Regions from separate parts of the Homo sapiens genome. Here regions 1, 2, 3, 4 and 6 are each linked to region 5. The links are contacts of gene promoters, found by promoter capture Hi-C in blood cells and fetal thymus (Javierre and others, 2016). All regions are on one chromosome and are shown on one strand. The core of a region is centred on a gene start or on the middle of the fragment in contact, and the rest is flanking DNA. Distances in the headings are between cores, read along the strand shown. Region 1 holds the start of RASAL1 (RAS protein activator like 1). Region 2 overlaps RBM19 (RNA binding motif protein 19). Region 3 overlaps RBM19 (RNA binding motif protein 19). Region 4 holds the start of OAS2 (2'-5'-oligoadenylate synthetase 2). Region 5 holds the start of SDSL (serine dehydratase like). Region 6 overlaps RBM19 (RNA binding motif protein 19).

Region 1 (3,686 bases), core at 488-2,987, 290 kb before region 5:
TTCTGGAAAGAACTCCTTTCACCACCTAGCAGCTGCCAGGCATCCAGCCTGGCCTCAATGCCCTAACAGTGTAGGCCGTCTCATTCCCAGGGCCTCTGAGGGGACATCTTAGAAAGAGTCTGGTGGGGGGGCTTGTCCAGCCACTGAACTGTCAGAGCACACACTCTGCTTCTCATTCAGGGTGTGTATATTTGGAGTAGCCAATGAGGATGAAGGGTGGCAAAAATTGCTCTCAACAGCTGCCCCCTTGACGCAGCTGCAGTGTTTTGGGGGTTGGGAATGTCATAAAATCAGGCAGGAAAGTCCTCTCTGGGAGCCCACACCTTGGGGAATCAGCACAGAGCTAAGACTGAATCTTGACACAGGTGAAGGCTCCCAATCCATGCTCCTGCTCACCTGGGCCACAGGGGAACTCCTAACAGGTCCTCCACCCTCCCAGCTGGATGGGAGACCCCAGGCAACCAGATGGGGACTCCGGTCCAGAGCTCTCATTGCCCAAATGGGAAACCAAGGCCCAGAGAGAAGCAGGTTCAAGGTCACACAACAAATGTCCTCCAGAGGATCCCACACCTGTCGCAGGTGCTAAGGCCCTCAGAGCCCCTTCTGGGCACTATGCCAAGCAGGAGGGGGAACCCGCCCCCCATATTCTGCTGATTCAGCAGCTGCTGACTCAGCCCTGGGGGAAGCATAGCTTGGGACTAGTAGTGAAGGGAGCCGTAGGGTCCCCCAGTCCCATTGCACCTGGCTGGGGAGGGGGTCGCAGCAAGGAATTGGCTCTTCAAGCAGCTCAGCACCCGGGGAAGGCCCACACGAGGCTGGGAGCCACAAGACTGGGGAGCTCAGGGCTTGGGGTCAAAAGGACCCTGGAGGGCCACCTGGTGACACTCTGCAAACCTAAGCACCAGATCCACACAGGATGTTAGGGCTCATCTGATCCCAGGCCCTCTCCAAGGGTCCTCCCCAGGGTTCCCTTGCTAGGCCCCCACCCACGCCTGGAGGAGCCACCTCCAACATCTGCCTGGACTAAGGAAGAGACCCCCCGCTTTCTCCCCTCCCAGATCTGACAGAATATGGCCCTCTAATCCCCTCTTCAGCTCTGGACGACCCCCTTTAGTACATCCCGGGAACAAAGACACCCCCTCCCCTGCCCGGGGGTGAGGCGGGGCATCTGCTAACTCTAGGCGCCCCCCTCCCACCGGGACAGCCATGGGCATGCGGCCTCTCGCCCCTTTAAAGCGGAACTGCCCCAAGACCAGTCTTGGACAAGAACCCCTCGCCCTCCTGCCAACCCGCCCTGGCACGCGGAAAGGGCGACGTCGGCCCCACCCCAGGCCTTGCGCGCCCCTCACCCAGAAGCGCCCGAGGAGTACTCACACGTCCTTGGCAGGCAGCGCGCGGCCCTCCACCACGCGAACATTCAGGGAGCTGCTCTTGGCCATGGCGCCTAGCCACAAACTTTCCAGGCAGAAGGGCGCTCAGGTTCCGAGGCTGGACCAGGGGACGTCTACATGTCACCTGCTTCAAGCCTGGCTCCCTGCCTCGTGGTCCCAGTGCCGCCTGTCCGAGACCCGGGTAGCTGGATGGGAGATTTCCGAAAGAGGAGAAGGTGTAGGTGCCCGGGGAGGGAGCGCCCGTCCGGACTCTACAGGTAGGAGCCGTGCTCCGAGCAGGAGGAGCGCGCAGGGGGCGCAGCGGGCTCTTGCCGAGGCGTCTGGAGCTCCAGACAAGCAGGCTGGGCGGGCAGGGGGCGGGAGGGGCGGCCCAGGGACCTCCCCACAATCCCGCCTCCAATGGGGTCCCCCACCTGACCCCGGGCCCCCTCGCGCGCCCTCTACCGGCACCCCAGTCATGCGCGCCAGAGCGCACGGGCGGCGGAGACAAGGGTGCACCGCCAGGTGGGGAGGGGCCCCCGTCCTGATGGGCGTGGCCGCTGGCTCCTGGTGAGTTGGCATTGGGCTTAAAAGACATGGTCTGTGCCCCCGCCTGTCCCTCATCCAACATATTCACACCTCTCCGCCCCCACCCCTCCTTGCCTACCATGCAGACACCTGCCTCCTCTCTCCAACCTCCGCGCCCCCCGGTCCAGGAGCAAGTATTAGTGGTGGGTGGGAGGCGTCGCCAGAGAGAGGGTCGCATGTTCCCTGGGGGTCCGTTCAGAGTCAAGGGAGGGGCCTTGAACATCCCCTTCCATCTCGTTCTAGTTTCCAGTTAAACACAGAACCCAGACTCTGCTCTAACGTCACGGGCTGGCACTGCGGGGGAGGAAGCCGCGGCCAGATGGGGGAGGGGAAGGCTTGAAGATAACCACTACAGCGATGATAAAAAGTCATCTACAGTTGTTTGAACACTTCATGGGTGCCAGGCACTGTTCTAAGCGCTTTACTGGGATTAGCTCATTTTTGTCTCCAGATGTGCACTACACACTACTCCACTGTTACCCCATTATCCGCAGTTTATGGATAAAGAAACTGAGGTTCAGAGGGATTAAATAACTTGGCAGAGGTCTCACAGTCAGTAACTGATTTGCCTTCCAGGGGTTCGAATCCTGGCTCTGCCATTTGGTAGCTGTCTGGACTTGGGTAAGCCATTCAACCTCTCTGTGCTTTGGTTTGGTTTTCTCATCTGTTGAGTGAGGATGACATTGCATTTCAGTCACAGGATTTTGAAAGAATTAAAAGAGTTAATGAAGATAAAAGTCTCAGGACAGTGACAAGTACCTAATACACGTCCAGAAAGTGTTTGATATTCTGATTGTTGTCCTTTGAGGCGTGGGCCACGCGTCACCTCTCCTGGGAAGGCTTCCAGGATGCCCTTCCACTCCGGTAGAGATTTTCTTTCCTTTCTCTCTGCTCCAGTGGCTCCAGGTTTGTACATTTTTCTGATTTTAAATGAGATAATATGACAGGCAGGGCCTGTCCCAGAACAGATCCGTTCGCACACTTATTTCTCCCTGTGAATTCATTGTTGACCTGCCCAAGACCTCTTAGAAAGGCCAGGCACCAATGGGAGTGCCCCTGCAGACTGAGTGCGGGAGCCAACGCCCAGACCGGTGAGACCAGGAGTGCCCTTCCTGGATCCGTCAGCAGCCCAATGGTCTGCTTCCCAGTCTCCCTTCTTGACTCCCCACCCAGCAACCCAGACAGGCTGATGAGGAACTCAGAGCCCTGGAATTCCTTCCCCAGCTGGTGGCTGCCTGGTGAGTCTCTGACCCACCAGAGATGGGGTCTCAGTTAATCCCATCTGGGAAATGGACCTAGCAGAACAGGCTCCAAGGCTTAGAAGTATTGCAACATCCTCAGCGGGGCATGAGGGGTAATCCAGGGTTAGATCCAGAACAGTAATAGCCCCAAAGGAGTCATCCCACTGTGATTTTTTTTTTTTTTTTTGCCCAGCTGGAGGGCAGGGCTCGATCTTGGCTCACTGCAACTTCCACTCCTGGGTTCAAGTGATTCTCCTGCTTCAGCCTCCTGAGTAGCTGGGACTACAGGCACCCACTACTATGCCCGGTTAATTTTTGTATTTTTAGTAGATTTTTATAGTTTGTATTTTTATATCACCATGTTGGCCAGGCTGGTCTTGAACTCCTGATCTCAAGCAATCCACCCACCTCAGCCTCCCAAAGTGCTGGGATTATAGGCGTGAGCCACCATGCCTGGCCCACTGTGATCTTTATCAGTTACCCCAGA
Region 2 (3,528 bases), core at 66-2,565, 450 kb after region 5:
GAGGTGGGGGGGTCAGCCCCCCGCCCGGCCAGCCGCCCCGTCCGGGAGGGAGGTGGGGGGGGTCAGCCCCCCCGCCCGGCCAGCCGCCCCGTCCGGGAGGTGAGGGGCGCCTCTGCCCGGCCGCCCCTACTGGGAAGTGAGGAGCCCCTCTGCCCGGCCAGCCGCCCCGTCCGGGAGGGAGGTTGGGGGGTCAGCCCCCCGCCCGGCCAGCCGCCCCGTCCGGGAGGTGAGGGGCGCCTCTGCCCGGCCGCCCCTACTGGGAAGTGAGGAGCCCCTCTGCCCGGCCACCACCCCGTCTGGGAGGTGTACCCAACAGCTCATTGAGAACGGGCCAGGATGACAATGGCGGCTTTGTGGAATAGAAAGGCGGGAAAGGTGGGGAAAAGATTGAGAAATCGGATGGTTGCCGTGTCTGTGTAGAAAGAAGTAGACATGGGAGACTTTTCATTTTGTTCTGCACTAAGAAAAATTCCTCTGCCTTGGGATCCTGTTGATCTGTGACCTTACCCCCAACCCTGTGCTCTCTGAAACATGTGCTGTGTCCACTCAGGGTTAAATGGATTAAGGGCGGTGCAAGATGTGCTTTGTTAAACAGATGCTTGAAGGCAGCATGCTCGTTAAGAGTCATCACCAATCCCTAATCTCAAGTAATCAGGGACACAAACACTGCGGAAGGCCGCAGGGTCCTCTGCCTAGGAAAACCAGAGACCTTTGTTCACTTGTTTATCTGCTGACCTTCCCTCCACTATTGTCCCATGACCCTGCCAAATCCCCCTCTGTGAGAAACACCCAAGAATTATCAATAAAAAAATAAATTAAAAAAAAAAAAAAAAAAGAAAAGGCACTGTGTATTTTAGGAAGATTTCCACTGAATGGTCAACATTTTCAGAGGGCTGATACTTAAAGGTATAAGGTGGCAAAGTCACTTACTGGGGAAACCCCTCATTGTTCAGTGATGGGAGAAATGAGACGCATGGTGCGGGTGATGAGCTGAGTTACACGTGTCTGGACCAAGTGGGGAGTGCTGTGCCCCAGAGGGCCAAGAGCCAGATATCTCGCCATCACCCTGGAGACCTGCTTAGCACAGAGACAAACAGATGAACCTAGAAACCCAGTCACCGCCCTGCTAAATGGAAACAGAGAACAGCAGCAAGGTGGAGGGTGCCACCTCAAAGGTGCTCCGACCCAGGCTGCTTGTCTGCACACGACTAGCATTTGCTGTCACCCTGCTTCATTTGTCACCTCGATGTTATGGGACTTTGCATTCTATTGCACATTTTTTCCCCTCTATTTGTTTATGGTTGGTCTTCCTTGCTAACTACTGAATGGCCGGCACCCAGAACAGTTCCAACAGCACCTGGCACACAGTAGGTGCCCACTAAAAAGTGTCTGTGGAGTGCTGATGAATGGAGTTATTAATGGATGCTTGTCTTTTCCTGGATTTTCTGATTTCTGGCCCCTCTCATGATCGGGCTCTCAATACCTGAAATAAGAAACGGGGAGTGGGAGGAAGCGGCACTTGCTGAGCACCTGCCCTGGCCATGCCAAATGCTCTACACGCGCTGCCTCCCTTTAGGCCCAGAGCAGACCCACTGGGCGGCAGGCCTCCCAGGACGCATGTGAGACCTCGAGGGGAGGTCTTATCTGAGGTCACAGGACTTGCGTGTGGGTCTGTCTGACTGTGGATTTTGCTTTGGCACACTGTGCCCCACCCTGGGGACAGTAACCAGCTTCAGCCCTTGAACTCAGTCCTTATGTTCTAGCTGGAGCCCGCCAGCCACTGGGAAATGATGGCAGAAGTGGAAAAAGAGGCTGAGGAGATGATGATGGATAGGGAAGGCGGCTTCTGAAGAGCTAGCATTCTAGAGGTTTCTGACACCTGCCATGAGGAGGAACACTCCAGAACCCCCATGATGTTGGAAAGCCCAGTTCAGATGCTCCCCATCCTCTTGGCAAAAGGCCAAAGCATCCAAATGGCCCTACACAACGGCTGAAAAGAGGGAGCGGGCATGGTCACTGAGTCTCCCTGGGAAGTCCCAGACCAAGAGGTCACAGCCATGAGGGGACCACTTTTCCAGACCAGTGGGGTACAGATTGGGGTGTACTTCAGGTAATTGAGTAGCTTCAACATCTGAGCTTCTCAAGAAAGCCAGGCCTACTGTCAACCAGGAGATGACAGCCAAGACACCTCTGCAGAAGATGCAAGCGGCGAAGCCACGGTGCGGACCGTTCGACAGAAAGCGTTGGAGGCCTCCCAGGGACATGTCAGGGGACAGGGAGCACGGGAGCGAGTGATTCATGCCGCAGAGCCTGCCAGTGCTCATGGGGAGGAGAACGAATCACCCTGCTGGGACAAATATTATTTTTAAAAGTCTGGGAAAGAAAACAACAATAAAACAAGCCGAGCTCAGGATGACTGGTGAGTTTTAAGATGCAGGGAAGGGTTGAAATGAATCTGCGAGTTGGACCATTTGTTTGAGGCCAAATAAACCAACAAAGAACTCGATTCAATTACAAAAGTTTAGAATTGGATGGTGAGTCAGAAGCTGAGAGCCCAAGAGGTCTAATCGGGTCTGTGCGTGGCCTGGAGTCCAGGACCGAGAGGAATGGACTCTGGAAGGCTGGTTCCTGGTGGTGATAGGAAAAGGCAGAACATGTGAGTCAGAGCACGCAAATGTGACAGCCCAAGTCGGGACAGCCCTTGGACATCTTGGTGTATGTAGGTGGGAGTCTCTTTTCTTAATAAGAAACCCAGTTAGGACCAGATAGGATTTGGGGTGTAGCAAAACCAAGGAGCCTGAGGCAGAAGTGAAGAGAAAGACGAGAAAAATCAATGGTCAGGAGGCCCCTTGCAACAGCCACTGTTTATCTCACAAGTGCGTTAAAGAGCGTCATTTGCAAAGTTCACGCAGAGGGAAAAGTCAATGATCGTGTCTCTGGCGACGCACAAAGCCCAGGATGTGCTTCATCTCCCAGCTGCCTCTCTGTGCACACACAGGAGAGGGGCCGTTTGTGTGAATCTCGGCCACACCTCCCCTGTCCTCACTTCCTCCTCCTCCATTCCATTTGGAAGATGGGGAAGTGTGGTCACAGCTTTTTCTGAGGCACAGTGACTATTCCAGCAGGCCTGTGGTGACGTGTGCCTTGGGGTGGGTGTGGGGTGGGGAATTTATTGTTAGAGGAAAAATAATCAAAGGTTTTCACACCCTCATGGGGCAAGGTGGGAAATAATTAAAACCAGACTAGGATTCTCTGACTGGATTCAAGTCCCGCATTAAACAGAAATTCTGTCTGGATCAGATGTTGTGTTTCCTATATCTGGGTGGGGGGCTGCTCCCGCAACTGCAGGGCAGAATCTGCAACCTATGCTGGGAGTGGCTGCCACCCACACTGGGAAGAAGGTAAGTCTAGAGGCATAGCTGGGAGGTGGGGGTCATGAGTGTGAACCTGGGAGTCCAGCTGCCTCCAGTGCTTATAAGCCTCTCTCCTCCACTTGGCCTCGGCTTGCCCATCTGTGAAATGGGGACA
Region 3 (3,460 bases), core at 196-2,695, 410 kb after region 5:
TATAGGTTGGTCATTCTTACTGCTGTTGATGGAATCTGTTACTGAGAGCACGAGGGTGGGCTGCTCCCCTCCTCTATAACACGATGATAGCAACAGCAGCTCTCGACTCTGTCTCAAAAAAAAAAAAAAAAAAAAAAGTGACCAATGGGATGGAGCAGGGCCTCCCACTGTGGGCCCACAGAAGAGTGTCTGGATTTGCTGACATGATTTGCCATGAATACAGAAATCAGTGACTAATGTTCAAAAACAGGGAGATGCTACATAAGAATCTGCACCTCTCGTTTCTCTTGAACCTGGAATGGCTAACCTGTGAGTGTGGCAGACCTGTCCCCTCCCTGCCTACAGGTAACTGATGAGGCTGTGCACTAGCTGCCCCTGGAGACACGCAGCCTCACTTATGGGGGCTTTTCTTCCTGTTCCTGGAGGCTCCTGAGTTGCTACTTCCCGAGACACAGGATAGGCAAGGCTTCCACAAACTCCGCTAAGTCGGAGACAGAACTGATTCCAAGAGGCCGGGGTGAAGGGCAGGGGGCGGGGGCACAGGTGGGCGAGGGGAGGAAGGAGGTTGGGGCAGAGTGTGGAGGCCAGAATGAGGCTCCACAATCTTCAGACTCAGTGGTGTGCAGTCCTAGGCTGCTGGGGGACACCAGCCACCTGTAGCTCCCACCCTTGGGGAGTATGAGGGTGCCATGATGTGGGTACCGCAGGGGGGCTGGGCACCCGGGGGCTGGCCTGGCTTGGGAGGCTGCCTGCTCTGGAAGGCTGGCTGAACCAGACCCCCACCCTCAGCTGCTGGTGCCTCTGCATGGGTCTCTCCCTGTCCTCCCTGGCTTCATATCTTGCAGCCCCCACGGGCAGAGCTCTCCTACCCAGATAGGTCTGCATCTCAGGGCTCTGTGTACAGCAGGCACACATCAGGTACGCACAGAATAAAGGGTACTCTTCAGGAGACTGGCCTGGCTCCTAAGACCAAGCCAATGTCCCTTTATTGATACAGGAGGCTGTTTTAGGGCTGTGCCTTTTTTTTTTTTTAAATAGACAGAATCACACTGTCACCCAGGTGAGTGCAGTGGAGCGATCTCGGCTCACTGCAACCTCTGCTTTCCGGGTTTGAGTGATTCTTGTGCCTCAGCCTCCCAAGTAGCTGGGATTACAGGCGTACACCACCAGGCCCAACTAATTTTTGTATTTTTAGTAGAAATGAGATTTCACCATGTTGGACATGAGCTCAAGTGATCCACCCGCCTTGGCCTCCTAACGTGCTGGGATTATAGGCATGAGCCACTACGTCCAGCCAGTTGTGCCTTTTTAAAACACAGCGAGTCCTTCTAAGAACTAGGTATGATCTGAGAGGGTCCTTGTGCAGAGCGGGTGGGCAGGAGCCTGGGCCGCAGACTGGCCTCTGCCACTGTGGGACTCCCAGGAGCTGCTAAGCTCCTTACCTCAGTGTTCCCACCTGTTAAACGGGGACGGTGCCTGCTCTGCTTATCTCATGGGGACCGTAAGGATTCCTGCCTTCAGTCACTCTTAGCAAGCATGACCCAGCATATTCTATGTGCCAGGAATGATGCTGGGGATATGGCAGTGAACAAAACTCCACAGGATAAACTAAACCACCAGCCATGGGGGCCACACTGGGGCTCAGGGTGGACAGGACGAGGTGGGACCTGAGTGCTGCCACTTGGTGGTCCCAGCCTTCTCTGAGTTACCAAAGTTACTCTTCTGCAGACAGGACACAGTAGTAGCACCCACCACAGGGGATTTGATGAGATAAAGCATGAGAGCACTTAGCCCAGGGCCCGGCCCGTTGAGGTGCCAGGCAAACATGAAAGCTAACAATCAAAGGGTCCTGTGAGGCCACCCCAGAGGACAGGCAGTGCCCAGCAAAGGGGAAATCCAGCTGCCCAAGATAAGGCCAAGGGGCGAGCTGCAGGGACCACTCCTCAGGCGCCTGCTGGCTCTAAGCAGCAGGCTGGCTCTGGACTTTCCTACAGAAATTCCACCAGCTAGGCAACATCATTGTCCCACTTTTCAGATGAGGAAGCAGCCGCACTAGGACTCTGAAGAGTCAAGTGGTCACACTTTCCAAGCAGGACCTTGAGCTCAGATAGGGTTGGCTCCAGCCTTACTGGCACAGCATAGCAAAGCCTGCCCCGCAGAGGGGGACACTAGCCCAGCCTCCCTAGGATGGGGGTCTCAACAGGAAAAGCATGAACAGACCCAGGCTATGTAGCAGCAATTTCCTTTTCAAAGGCCATTGGTTCTCAATCCAGCTGTCTGGTAGCATCAGCTAGGAACCCACTGATGCCTGGATCCTACCTCCAGAGGTTCTGATGCAAATGGCCTGGGGTGAGCACGGGATATGATGACTGCTATGATGACTGATGTTATTAATCTTGGTGCTGAGGACCTGGGCTCCCTGAGTGGCTGGAGAGTGGGTCGGTGGGTGGAGTAACTTCCCTCTGTGCTCTGGGTGTCTTGTGTGTGTGCAGAATTCTATGACTGGCCACGCACAACCCCATACACAGGGGCTGGTGAAGGTGCTGCAGCCCTGATACCCATGGAGTTACCCTGAGCTAGGGCTGCGGGGCGGGGGGGGGGGGGGTGGGCTATGCCTGGGGGCTTCTAGACTTGGTCCCACATGTTTGTATTAGTTACAGATACTGGCAGACCTGTGCGGCTGGGAAGCAAGGGGAGTGTCCCGGTGAGGGTGACTCACTGCAGAGGGAAAAGGGAAAAAGAACCAGGAAAGGTGGGAAGGCATCCCCTACTCCTCTGCCTCAGGTCTGGAGGAATCCCCCAAGTCTTAGGGTTTGGTCCACATTAGTTACTGATCTCTTTTCTTTTGGCATAGGCCCTGGGTTGGAAAGCAGAGGCTGAAAGGGAGCAGCTGGTAACATCTCATAGGGCCAAGGTATAGTGGTGTCTGTACCAGGCTGTGTAAGTGCAAAGGCTCGAGGGTCCAGATAGGAATATGATGGCATCAAACAGTCCAGGGGGTCGGGGGAGACTACAGGGAGGGCTATGCATTGTGCGTAAGGGGAAGCCCAGCCTTCGTATAAACGTGCAGCCATTCCTTGGGCCTGGTGCCCTGTGGGAATGTGGAACCAGGCTGGCCAAATCTGATTTTTCAGAAGAGGTCAGAATCTTGATTTTCAGGTCAAATCTTCCAGTAGGAAAATAGTGATGATTCATTCAAAACCATTGTTTTCATAACTGGTAGGCAAAATAAAGATCTAATTTCAGCCGACAACTTGCCAGTGTGGTCTCTGCTCTTTTCTCTCTCTCCTCTCTGTCTACAAAACCCCACTACTTTCATTTGTGGTCATGAAGCAGTAATAAAAACCTTGTCTGTGTGTTTTCCTTGGGTTTCTCCAGGCTGGGCCAGCCTACAGTTCAGAAATAAAACTGGCCACCCCCTACCACCAGCTACAACCCTGGAGGGAAACCCACCCTTCCT
Region 4 (3,157 bases), core at 420-2,919, 440 kb before region 5:
TCTTTGTGTGCATCTTGTAAATTTTCTCAGCATTTCAAATTACTTCAAAATAAAGTGTTTTTTTAAATAACAAATAAAGCACAGGCTTTGGAGTCAGGCAGTGTGTTAGTGTGAGAACCTAGCCTGACAACTTCCTAGCTGTGTGATCACGGGCAAATGTTTCCACCTTTGTGAGCCTCCATGTTCTCATCTGAAAAAGGAACCTTAGGACTACGCCTGCCCAGCCTGCCTACCTCTCGGTGTTGCAGTAAAAGTTGGATAAGGGCAGGAAAGGCCCTTAATGAGCATGTGCATTAATCGAGGTTTTTCCAGAACTAACAGGGTATTTATATTTATTTTGAGGTATTTATTTTAAGGAATTGGCTCATGTGATTGTGGAGGCTGGCAAATCCAAAATCGGCAGGGTAGACTGGCAGGTGGGAGACCCAGGAAGGAGTTGCTGCTGCAAGTGGAGGCCAAGGCACTGCAGCCGAATTCCCTCTTCCTTGGGGGAGCTCAGTCTTTAGTCTATTAAGGCCTTCAACTGATTGAATCAGGCCCACCACCTTACAGATGATAATCCACTTTACTCAAAAAAAAAGTCTACCAATGTAAATGTTAATCTTATCTTTAAAAAATACCTTCACAAAAAGATCTAGGATAATGTTTGACCAAATATCTGGGTACCTGGGCTCAGCCAACTTGACACATAAAATTAACCATCCCAGTATGGAAGGGCCCTGGTCCCCCACTACATCTTGGAGATTTTTGCCTTCTCTGTGAATTATTATTGCTGGGCCAAGGCAGCTGGCTGGGAGTCCTCTGCGAGTTTTGTTTTCAAAGCTCTGGGCACAGGAGTTGCATGTCTGTCTCCTTTCTGGCTCACACACTTGGGGTGTGTTTTCTTGCCCTTGCGAGGCTGGACAAGTGCCTCATACGGTCCCTCGGCTGTCCACAAGTGTGCTGAGAAACTGGACACACAGAGGTTCCCACCCGCTGACCACACGGGGGCCTGTGTTTACCCAGAAGCAGACCAAAACCTGAGTCCAGCTAGGTCCCTGCTTTGCTGTGTGTCCCTGAGCAAGTCAGTTCCCTCTCTGGGTCTCTTTTTCCTCTCTGCCGCTTTCCCTGAATGTGAGTTCCCTGGCCACTGAGAACAGGGGGAAAGGGACAGAGCCTCAAAAGATGACCTGTGCGCCCCTGCTTCTAAGCACTTTGCAGGTATTATTTAATCATCAAGCTAATCCTACGAGAGAGCTGCCATTTTCCCCCAGCTTACAGATGGGGGAATTGAGGCGCGAAGAGGGCAGGCGATGTGCTCAAGGACAGACATCTAGCAGGTATGAAGCCCTCACAATGGGGTTCTAGAGGCTGTTTAGTTAACCTCAAGTTTTGGGGAGCCCCTGAAGGGCTGGTCACCACGCTGCCGGGGACAGGGAAAGCCTCTGAGCTTGAGTCAGTTTTGGTTTCCCTGCTGGGGTGCAGGAGTCAGTAAACCTTGCTGCAAGGGGCGGGGAAGAGCATTTGAGCTTAAGTTAGTTTTGGTTTCCCTGCCCCGGATGCAGGAGTTGGTAAACTCACTGCAAGGGGCAGGGCAGAGCCTCTGAGCTTAAGTTAGTTTTGTTTCCCTGTCCCGGATACAAGAGTTGGTAAGCTCGCTGCAGTGGGTGGAGAGAGGCCTCTAGACTTCAGTTTCAGTTTCCTGGCTCTGGGCAGCAGCAAGAATTCCTCTGCCTCCCATCCTACCATTCACTGTCTTGCCGGCAGCCAGCTGAGAGCAATGGGAAATGGGGAGTCCCAGCTGTCCTCGGTGCCTGCTCAGAAGCTGGGTTGGTTTATCCAGGAATACCTGAAGCCCTACGAAGAATGTCAGACACTGATCGACGAGATGGTGAACACCATCTGTGACGTCCTGCAGGAACCCGAACAGTTCCCCCTGGTGCAGGGAGTGGCCATAGTGAGTCCAGGGCTGAGGTTGGGTCTCTGGGAGGCAGGAGATTCCACGGCGGCAGCAAGGCCGAGCTACTGGGTGCTGGGTGCCTATTATGTGCGAGGCCCACACTTGGGTGGGATGTGGTGTAGGAGTCTCAGGCTCTGGAGCAGGCGCTTGCTCCAGAGCTGTGTGACACTGGGCAGGCTACTTAACCTCTCTGTGCCTCAGTCTCTGACTCTGTAAAATGGGGAGAGGCATAATACCCACTTCAGAGTATCGTAAGGCTTGAGCACATCATGTTCTTAGCAAAAGACTGGCAGTGCTCAGTGAATTCACTGTGATTACTCACTGCGATTTTCTTCTATCCTCTCCACAGTACAGAGGAGTAAACTTAGGGAGGCTAGAGAACTTTGTTCAAACTACCCAGGTTGCCTTGTGGTTTCTCCGCAGCAAGAAGGAGTGGCTTTTATCAGTTAGAAATATTTGGTTTTGTGGACACAAATCTCAGGACTGAGGCTGAAAATTCTGGACCTCTGGGGAGGAAGGGGGACTGGGGAGATGCCAGGACCCTAGAATTGGGGGCGTGGGGGTCCTGATGGCCCAATACTATCCTCTTAGCCTCCTGAGCTGCTGACGTCCCTTCTCTGCTGCTGCCACACTTTTTGGTCTCTACCCCTTGCACACATCCGCTAGTGCCTCAATAAAGAAATCTAGACACGTGGTGTCCCCAGCCCTGGCCCAGGCCAGCAAGCTAAGGCAAGTTTGGTTAATAGCTATTGTCAGAACTGGGATTTTAAGCCTGGGTAATTGGCTTGAGGGCATGCATGTTTAACCACTACACTATCCTGCCTCTCAATTTTTTTTTCCTCATGGAAGTAAAACAGAAAAAGTGCCCAGATCAAAGTGTCCAGCTTGATAGGTAGCCACAAACAATGTAACTGTGTAACCCCCACCCAGATCCAGAAACAAAACATTCTCAGCCCCCCAGAGCCCTGGGCCCCCGATCCAGTCAGCACCTCCAAACCCAGGTAGGCAATCTCCTGACTTCTAACAGCATAGACACGTTTTGCCTGTTTTTAAACGTTTTACAATTATAGGGTGACCAACTATCCCAGTTCATCCAAGATTGGGGTGTTTCCTGGGATGTGGGACTCTTGGTGTGAAAGCTGGGAATGTAAACCAGGATGCATGGGTGAACCCTACATAAATGGCATCATGGGCTCTGTGTGCTTTAGTGCGTGGTTT
Region 5 (3,154 bases), core at 634-3,133:
GTGGGTTACGCTGGACAGCATGCACGTGTTGGTGTACAGTAGACATGCACTAAATGCAGCTAGTCTGCTTCTTGTCAAAGTCTGAGCTGTGTGCTGAGTCTCTGCCTACTTCAAGAAGCCCTCCCTGATCTTGCCCCATCCCCAGCTACCCTATGGGGACTTTCTGCCCTCTGTCATCTTAGGAAGTGTTATTGTTGCTACCGAATTGGGTGTCTTCCTCTCCCCTCCATGCTGGGGGCCACTTCAAGGCACAAACTGGATTTTATCACCTCTGTGTCCCCAGTACCCAGTCCAGGACAAGGCACCCAACAAGGATGGATGTGTGTCTAAAGCGAGGATGGGTAGAAACTTGCCAGAGTCCACATTAAGGATCACGGCCAAGCAGCTCCATCTAACCCCAAGTGGCTGGGAGTTAATCATCAAACCTGGGGAGATCAGAAACAGCCCAAGAAGGACACACAACATCTGTGATGCCAGGTCTTCCTGTTCCCACTTTCCACATAGGGAAACTGAGGCCCAGAGATGGGCACGAGCTGCTCAGGTTCACCCAGTGAGATGGTGCAGAGACAAGACATGAATTTGACCATGTCATTCCCCCCACCTAAAGCCTTCTGTGGCTCCCTAGTGCCCCTGGGTAAGGTCCAAACTCTGGATTGGTACAGGCATCCCTGTGGACTCTGATCTCTGCCCACATCTCCAGCCTCAACCCCACTTGCTTCCCCACCCCTGCCTTCTCCCTCCCAGCCCCACTGGATACTACCCTGACCCTGGAATATATCATGTTTTTCATTTCCAGACCTTTGCACTCCCTGTGCCTGACTCCTGGCTCCACTCAGACTTCCCCTCCTCCAGGAAGCCTCCCCAGCCCCCCAGGGCCAGGCGGGGTGCCTGCTCTGGGTTCCACAGCCCTGCCCCACCCTGCCAGCTGCTAACATCTGATAGCACTAATAAGTGCTCTCTAATGGCCCTCTCTAAGGGCTTTGTGAAGGCAGAGGACATGCTATTTTGTTTGAGGCCAAAGTTCCAGGGATTGGCACATAGTAGGTGTCCAATAAACATTTAATGAATGAATGAATGGTCAGTCATTCATCTGAGTAGCAAATAATTGCTTGGGTTCTCATGCTGCGTGTAAAATATCCGAGACGGAGAGGTGCTTCAGACAAAAATATACCTTTCCCATGTCACAAATAATAATTATAATAATTGTTTCCTTGGCCAGGTGCAGTGGCTCACGCCTGTAATCCCAGCACTTTGGGAGGCAGAGGCAAGCAGATCACCTGAGGACAGGAGTTCGAGACTGGCCTGGCCAACATGGTCAAACCCTGTCCCTACTAAAAATACAAAAATTAGCTGGCGTGGTGGTGGGTGCCTGTAAACCTGGCTACTTGGGAGGCTGAAGTGGGAGAATCGCTTGAATCCAGGAGGCGGAGGTAACAGTGAGCCGAGATCGCACCATTGCACTCCAGCCTGGGGGACAAGAATGAAACTGTGTCTCAAAAAAAAAAAGTTCCCTTGTCCTTGTTTTCCCATCCCAGACCTAAGCTGACCCCAACAGTGGTTCAGCATCCGGGACAATCACTAGACCTAAAATGAGAAGACATGGAGATGCCTGCATCCCGGAAGAGATGGCCCAGGGCCAGGGGTAAAGGCTGTCTCTGCCCCTTGCTGTCTGGGAAGCTTTGGCCAAATAAGTTCCCTTTTCTGAGTTTCAGTTTGCTCATCTGTCAAATGAGACAGGGTGGTGCATGAGTCATAGGCAGTGCCCGGGAAAGCGGTGAGGGTTGCTCTCATCCCCTCTCCTCCTCCGTCTTCACCCGGAGGCTTAGGGTCTGGAGCTTTCTCTTTAACAAAGGAGGAGGGACCAAGGTTGCCGGAAGCTGCCTGAAGCTGGACAGAGCCGGTTCCTGGAAAGAGCTGGTTCCCTGGCAGGCTGGAGGGCAGGAGCTGGGGCCACGCTGGTCTGGGATAGTTGGGCAGGGAGGTAAGGGGTCTGGGGCCAGCTGGGGCCCCTGGGGCTCAGTGTGTGTGTGAATGAGAGGCTGATGAGAGGCTGCAGGAGTTTGGGAGGCTTTGGGCAAAGTCCAAGCTGAGCAGGTGGGAGTGAGAGGGCCTGAGCGTGTTCTAGGCCCTCCTGGGAATGTCGATTGAATTCAGGGTGCCCTGCAGAAGAAAGTGTTGTGCTGGGGACCCTGAAGGGCGAGAGTGGGTTCTGCCTGCCAGAGGGGCAGGGTTGGGCATTCTGCCAGCCAAGGGGCCAGCCCGAGGTGTCCCAGCCCTGGCACCAGGGATTTGGCTGTGGAGTGCCACCAAGGTGGCCTCTGGGGAAAGGCTTTGGGGACAAGTGAGGTGGACAGCACTGGTGGTCCTTACCTCAACTCATAGATGTGACAGGTAAGGCCCAGTGACAAAAGTGACTTGGCCAAGGTTGGCATGACTGGGACCTGAGCCTGAGCCCCCTGCTTTCCCCTGGGTTATTCCACAGCAGGGAGACCCAGGTCCCCCATTTCAGCCCTGGTGGCTGCCATACGGGACAAGAGGTGTGTGTCCCTGGGCCAAGACAGCTCAGTCCCAGACCTCAGGTGCCTGATGGGGTCTGGGGTTGATAAGGCTGTTGGCAACTTGGGGCTTTTTCATTTAACTGATGCCTGCTGTCCTCTTGTGAGTCAGTATAACCAAGAGGGCTGGGGAAGCCTGGAAACTGAGCCAGGAGCATTTGGTTCCAAAGGACAATTGGCAATAAATATTAAATGCATGCAGCTTTCATAATAGTAACGATAACACTAGTATATTAGAGAAAGTATAGCATCGCGGTTAATAGCACAGATGCCAAAGACACTGCCTGGTGTGAATTCTGGCTATGCTGTTTCTAACTGTGTGAACTTGGATAAGTTACTTAATCTCTCTGGACCTCAGGTTCACTGTTTATAAAATGGAGTCAATGGTGAGTTAATGACTCATCTGTTGTGAGCCAACAGGTGGCTCACACCTGTTATCCTAGTGTTTTGAGAGGCAGAGACAAGAGATTTACCTGAGGCCAGGAGTTCAAGACCAGCCTGGACAACTCAGCAAAACTGCATCTCTATAAAAATTAAAATATCAGCCGGATACAGTGGTGCATGTCTACAGTTCCAGCTACTCAGGAAGCTGAGGTGGG
Region 6 (3,417 bases), core at 555-3,054, 490 kb after region 5:
AGGCTGCCTTCTCTCCCCTCCAGCAGGCGGGGTAGCTTGAGGCCCTGCCCAGAGAATGCTCTCCGGAGCCCTGCACTCTCACCTGCACACCTGTCCCACTGGCTGTCCCTGTCAGTTTCCTCTCTGGTCCCCCACAGAGAGACCTGAGTCTCTCCTGAAATGGCTACATGCCTCGTGCCTAGCACAGTGCCTGGTATAAATGACACACTCGCTGTCATTTGGTCCCACTGGAATGATCTGGAGGAAGACAGTTCCTTCTAGACCCAAGAAAACAGGCAGCAGAGAGGAGTGGCTCCAAGCCGGGGCTCTGGGTTAGGCTGACTTAGATCCAAATCCCCATTCAGCGGCATGGTCCCAGGCAGGACACTCCATCTCCCTAGTTTCCATCTCCAGTTTCTGTCTGGGTGCAAAAGGAATGACAGCATCCATCCCTCGCAGGGCTGCTGTGCGGCTTAAAAGAGGTGATTCTGCACGGGAAGGCATTCAAGCTCAGAGCCCCGCACACAGCAAGCGTGTAATAAAAGGGAGTTGTGATTTTTACTACACCTGGTAGGAGAAACCCATAGAACCTGCCTGCCCAAATGGACCAGCTTGGTTCCCCGAAACCCTGAAACCTCCCCCTGGCTAATGACCTTTACCGGCCAGTGGCTTTGTCTGAAATCCTGTCTGGGGCTTCCCTGGACAATCTTGAAGTCCCTGAGAAGGCTCACAGCGACCCCTGCTGTCTGCAACGAGGAACTGCCTTACATCCCCAGCCGGAGTGAACAACAATAGCAGGTACGGCCCTCCAAGAAGGTCTTACGTTTCCAGGGTTTTAAGAAAACTCTCATCAGAACAATGGCAAGGAGAAGAGTCACCACATGTAATTATGTTCAGTGGACACTAATTCCCTGTCTTCTAAAAATAAATATAATACATGAGATCACACAAAGTGCTCTCTCTTCCCTTGTGGTCTTTTGTTTCCCCGGATAAGTGTCATCCTAAATATACTGCAGAACCAAGTGAAACTGTCATTTCAGCGGGATATTATTTCCCGATCAACATGCGCTCTTCTTAGCAAGCCCGTTTTAATCTGGCAGTTCTTAAGTTGGACTCCTTTTAAAAAGCAGAGCATGTTTAAACAAGCAGACATACCGAGAGGCTAAGGATATGTACCTTCCTGGAGGGACGACTGATCAGTCGAGGTTTAGGGAAATGGGAAACCTCCCCCCAGGTCATGACCCCATCTCGCCAGGCTATTCCTGCTGTGCAGGATACCCGGAGATCATAGCTAAGATCCTGCTTCCCAGATACTGGCAGGATTGGTCTCTGCCTCAGATCCCAGCTCACCACACACCACATCTGTTTATGAACTGAATACTAGTGTATGATTTAGAACAAACAGAGGGGAAAAGGAGGACAAAGATATCTGAAGTTCCCCACATGACTTCTTATTCTTCAAACTACAGAGTGAGAGCAAAGAAGGTAGATGCCACACAAAGATAATTGTTTCTCATCTCCAAAACACAAGGCTGATTTTGTAACCACAGATTACCTTGCAAGATGCTAACTGGCAACTCTAACAGAGGCTTCACTCTTGGACCCTTGTGCAAGTGTAGAATGAACGAACGAGACCTAGTGTCTAGAATCCTAAATGTTCACCCACGCGCAGGCCATGGTGCTGCAGGTCCCCCGAGCAGTCCTGGATCCCACCGAAGCCTCAACAATGTGTTTAGGTGAAGCTGACTTCATCTGCCTTTGCATTCTGAGAGCTAGATGGTCTCTCTATTACCCTGCCCATGCCTTGGGTGGGGGGGCCTTGGCTTCAAGCATTCCCCTTAGGCCCTGATATGAGGACGTTTCTTTCATTCATGGCTTGGTGCTGGGTGGTGCCTACCTAATCTGAAAAGCCAAACACTGTAACATGGCAGCGTAGGGATCACCAACTAGGGGCCCTGGGGCAGGCCAGACTTGTTTTGTTTTTAAAAAGTGAATTAGTTGCTGATGAATTCTCCTTAAGAATCCACATGGCTGGTTTCTCTTTCAAAACATGGGAACTGGTCTTACGAAGCCTGAGTTCCTGCATGGCATCCCAGCTGGATGACCAGAGAGAGGCCCGCCTGCTGCTCAGTCCCCACCCAGCCTGCTGCCGTTACCGGCTGGGTCCCTGCGACAGCTGCATTTTCCACCCCTGTGCAAGCAGGTGCTGACGGACTGCTTTATGTGTGCAGGTAATTCGCCTTCATTTCCATAGAGTCATTTAGGCCACTGGTCCCCAACCCCGGCTGGACATTAGGATCCCCTGGGGAGCTTTTAGCAAAACACCGATGTCTAGACCCCACTGTTGAAAAATGGAATCCAACTCTCTGGGGGTGCAGCCTCGGGAAAGGTGTATTTTAGCCATTGCCAGGTGGCTGGAATGTGTGGCTAAGGTGGAAAACCAGCACCTTAAACCAAAGGGGTAGCCTGGATGGAGGAAATTTCAAGCAGATCATGGGTAGGGCTGGGTTTTAGCCACTGGGGCCCCTGCCCCTCTTGCACGTTGTGGATGGGGACAGGGAAGCCTGCCTGCCCTTTCTCCATCTGCCTCGGAGAGGGGGAAGCCTGGCTGTTTTGACTTTTTTCCTGCACAGTGCTCTGGGGAGCCACATCTGAGATTAAGGGAGATAAATCAAAAGCAGCCAAAAGATGACCTTTGAAAGACCACTGTGCCGGCCTGCAACGGAACCATCCAGGACCCAAAGGCCATCTTCCCTGAGACTCGGGCAGGCTCCCCGCCCACACGCCAGTCCCCTGGACTAAACCTGAAGTTCTCACCTGAAGAGCTCTCGGATCTCCCGGCTGTGGGCCTGGAAGGGGATGTTCCGCACCAGGATCTTGGAGGTGGTCTGCTTTCTGGGAACTTGTTTCTTCCGAGCCAATGTCACGGCTGGCCTGGAGTGGTGGGGGGAGAGGGTCCAAGTTATTCGGAGCTTCAGCAGCTCCTGCCCAACATTGACTCCACTACGCCTCCATCAGAATATTCAGGTGATGGATTCAAGGAGTGTGCGTGGGGTGCGGGACCAACGTGAAAGGAGAGGAAGGCCGTCTCCCACCAGGTGATAGGACCCAAAACAGCTGCAGACGTCAGGGGGACACATCCGTGCTTGGGTGGCTGCTGACCTTCATTTGAGAGACTCCGGGGCCACCAGGGACTTAAGGAGCCCCGCTAAGGGTGGGGCTGGTTTCTCACCAAACCCAATCTCCATTGTGTCTTTCTCTCCAGTTGCAAAGAAAGACCCCAGTTGGTTTCCAAAGGTCTTGTGACACTTCATCAATAACCCGAGGAGGAACATGCGGGGGCCTAACCATGCAGATGGACCAGGTGGCGAGCAAGGACACTCTCAGCCCAGGTTCAAGGCCATCCCCAATGCAGTGCTACCTGGCCTGTCTCCCTGC

What was found. Contacts are between HindIII fragments. The CHiCAGO score rates a contact against its expected background, and 5 or more counts as called.
Region 1: the fragment with the promoter of RASAL1 here is called in contact with the fragment with the promoter of SDSL in region 5 in 11 of 17 cell types (megakaryocytes, neutrophils, total B cells and 8 more); the score reaches 10.1 in megakaryocytes.
Region 2: a fragment that was not itself captured here is called in contact with the fragment with the promoter of SDSL in region 5 in 1 of 17 cell types (erythroblasts); the score reaches 5.2 in erythroblasts.
Region 3: a contact is called between a fragment that was not itself captured here and the fragment with the promoter of SDSL in region 5, in 1 of 17 cell types (megakaryocytes). The highest score is 5.3, in megakaryocytes.
Region 4: a contact is called between the fragment with the promoter of OAS2 here and the fragment with the promoter of SDSL in region 5, in 2 of 17 cell types (total B cells and fetal thymus). The highest score is 6.0, in total B cells.
Region 6: a contact is called between a fragment that was not itself captured here and the fragment with the promoter of SDSL in region 5, in 6 of 17 cell types (erythroblasts, megakaryocytes, M0 macrophages and 3 more). The highest score is 16.6, in erythroblasts.

What each region holds. Positions count from the first base shown.
Region 1 is chr12:113,134,024-113,137,709 of GRCh38, forward strand. RASAL1 (RAS protein activator like 1) reads right to left here and starts at 1,738. Exons shown (of 21, transcript NM_001301202.2): 1 at 1,375-1,738. The coding sequence starts at 1,439. RefSeq lists a silencer at 1,725-1,864. The HindIII fragment of the contact is 4,772 bases long and covers 1-3,686 here.
Region 2 is chr12:113,872,873-113,876,400 of GRCh38, forward strand. All of the region lies in intron 21 of RBM19 (RNA binding motif protein 19), which reads right to left. Among named protein-coding and RNA genes, the nearest start is that of RBM19, 92 kb to the right of the region's middle. The HindIII fragment of the contact is 5,903 bases long and covers 1-3,528 here.
Region 3 is chr12:113,827,985-113,831,444 of GRCh38, forward strand. The region is part of intron 23 of RBM19 (RNA binding motif protein 19); the gene reads right to left. Among named protein-coding and RNA genes, the nearest start is that of LINC01234, 56 kb to the left of the region's middle. The HindIII fragment of the contact is 6,564 bases long and covers 1-3,460 here.
Region 4 is chr12:112,976,850-112,980,006 of GRCh38, forward strand. It overlaps OAS2 (2'-5'-oligoadenylate synthetase 2), which reads left to right and starts at 1,670. Exons shown (of 10, transcript NM_002535.3): 1 at 1,670-1,936. The coding sequence starts at 1,760. RefSeq lists enhancers at 1,215-2,024, 2,245-2,324, 2,495-2,574, 2,685-2,834. The HindIII fragment of the contact is 12,087 bases long and covers 1-3,157 here.
Region 5 is chr12:113,420,497-113,423,650 of GRCh38, forward strand. It overlaps SDSL (serine dehydratase like), which reads left to right and starts at 1,884. Exons shown (of 8, transcript NM_001304993.2): 1 at 1,884-1,981. The HindIII fragment of the contact is 13,599 bases long and covers 1,676-3,154 here.
Region 6 is chr12:113,912,173-113,915,589 of GRCh38, forward strand. It overlaps RBM19 (RNA binding motif protein 19), which reads right to left. Exons shown (of 24, transcript NM_016196.4): 21 at 2,797-2,913. Among named protein-coding and RNA genes, the nearest start is that of RBM19, 52 kb to the right of the region's middle. The HindIII fragment of the contact is 6,170 bases long and covers 1-3,417 here.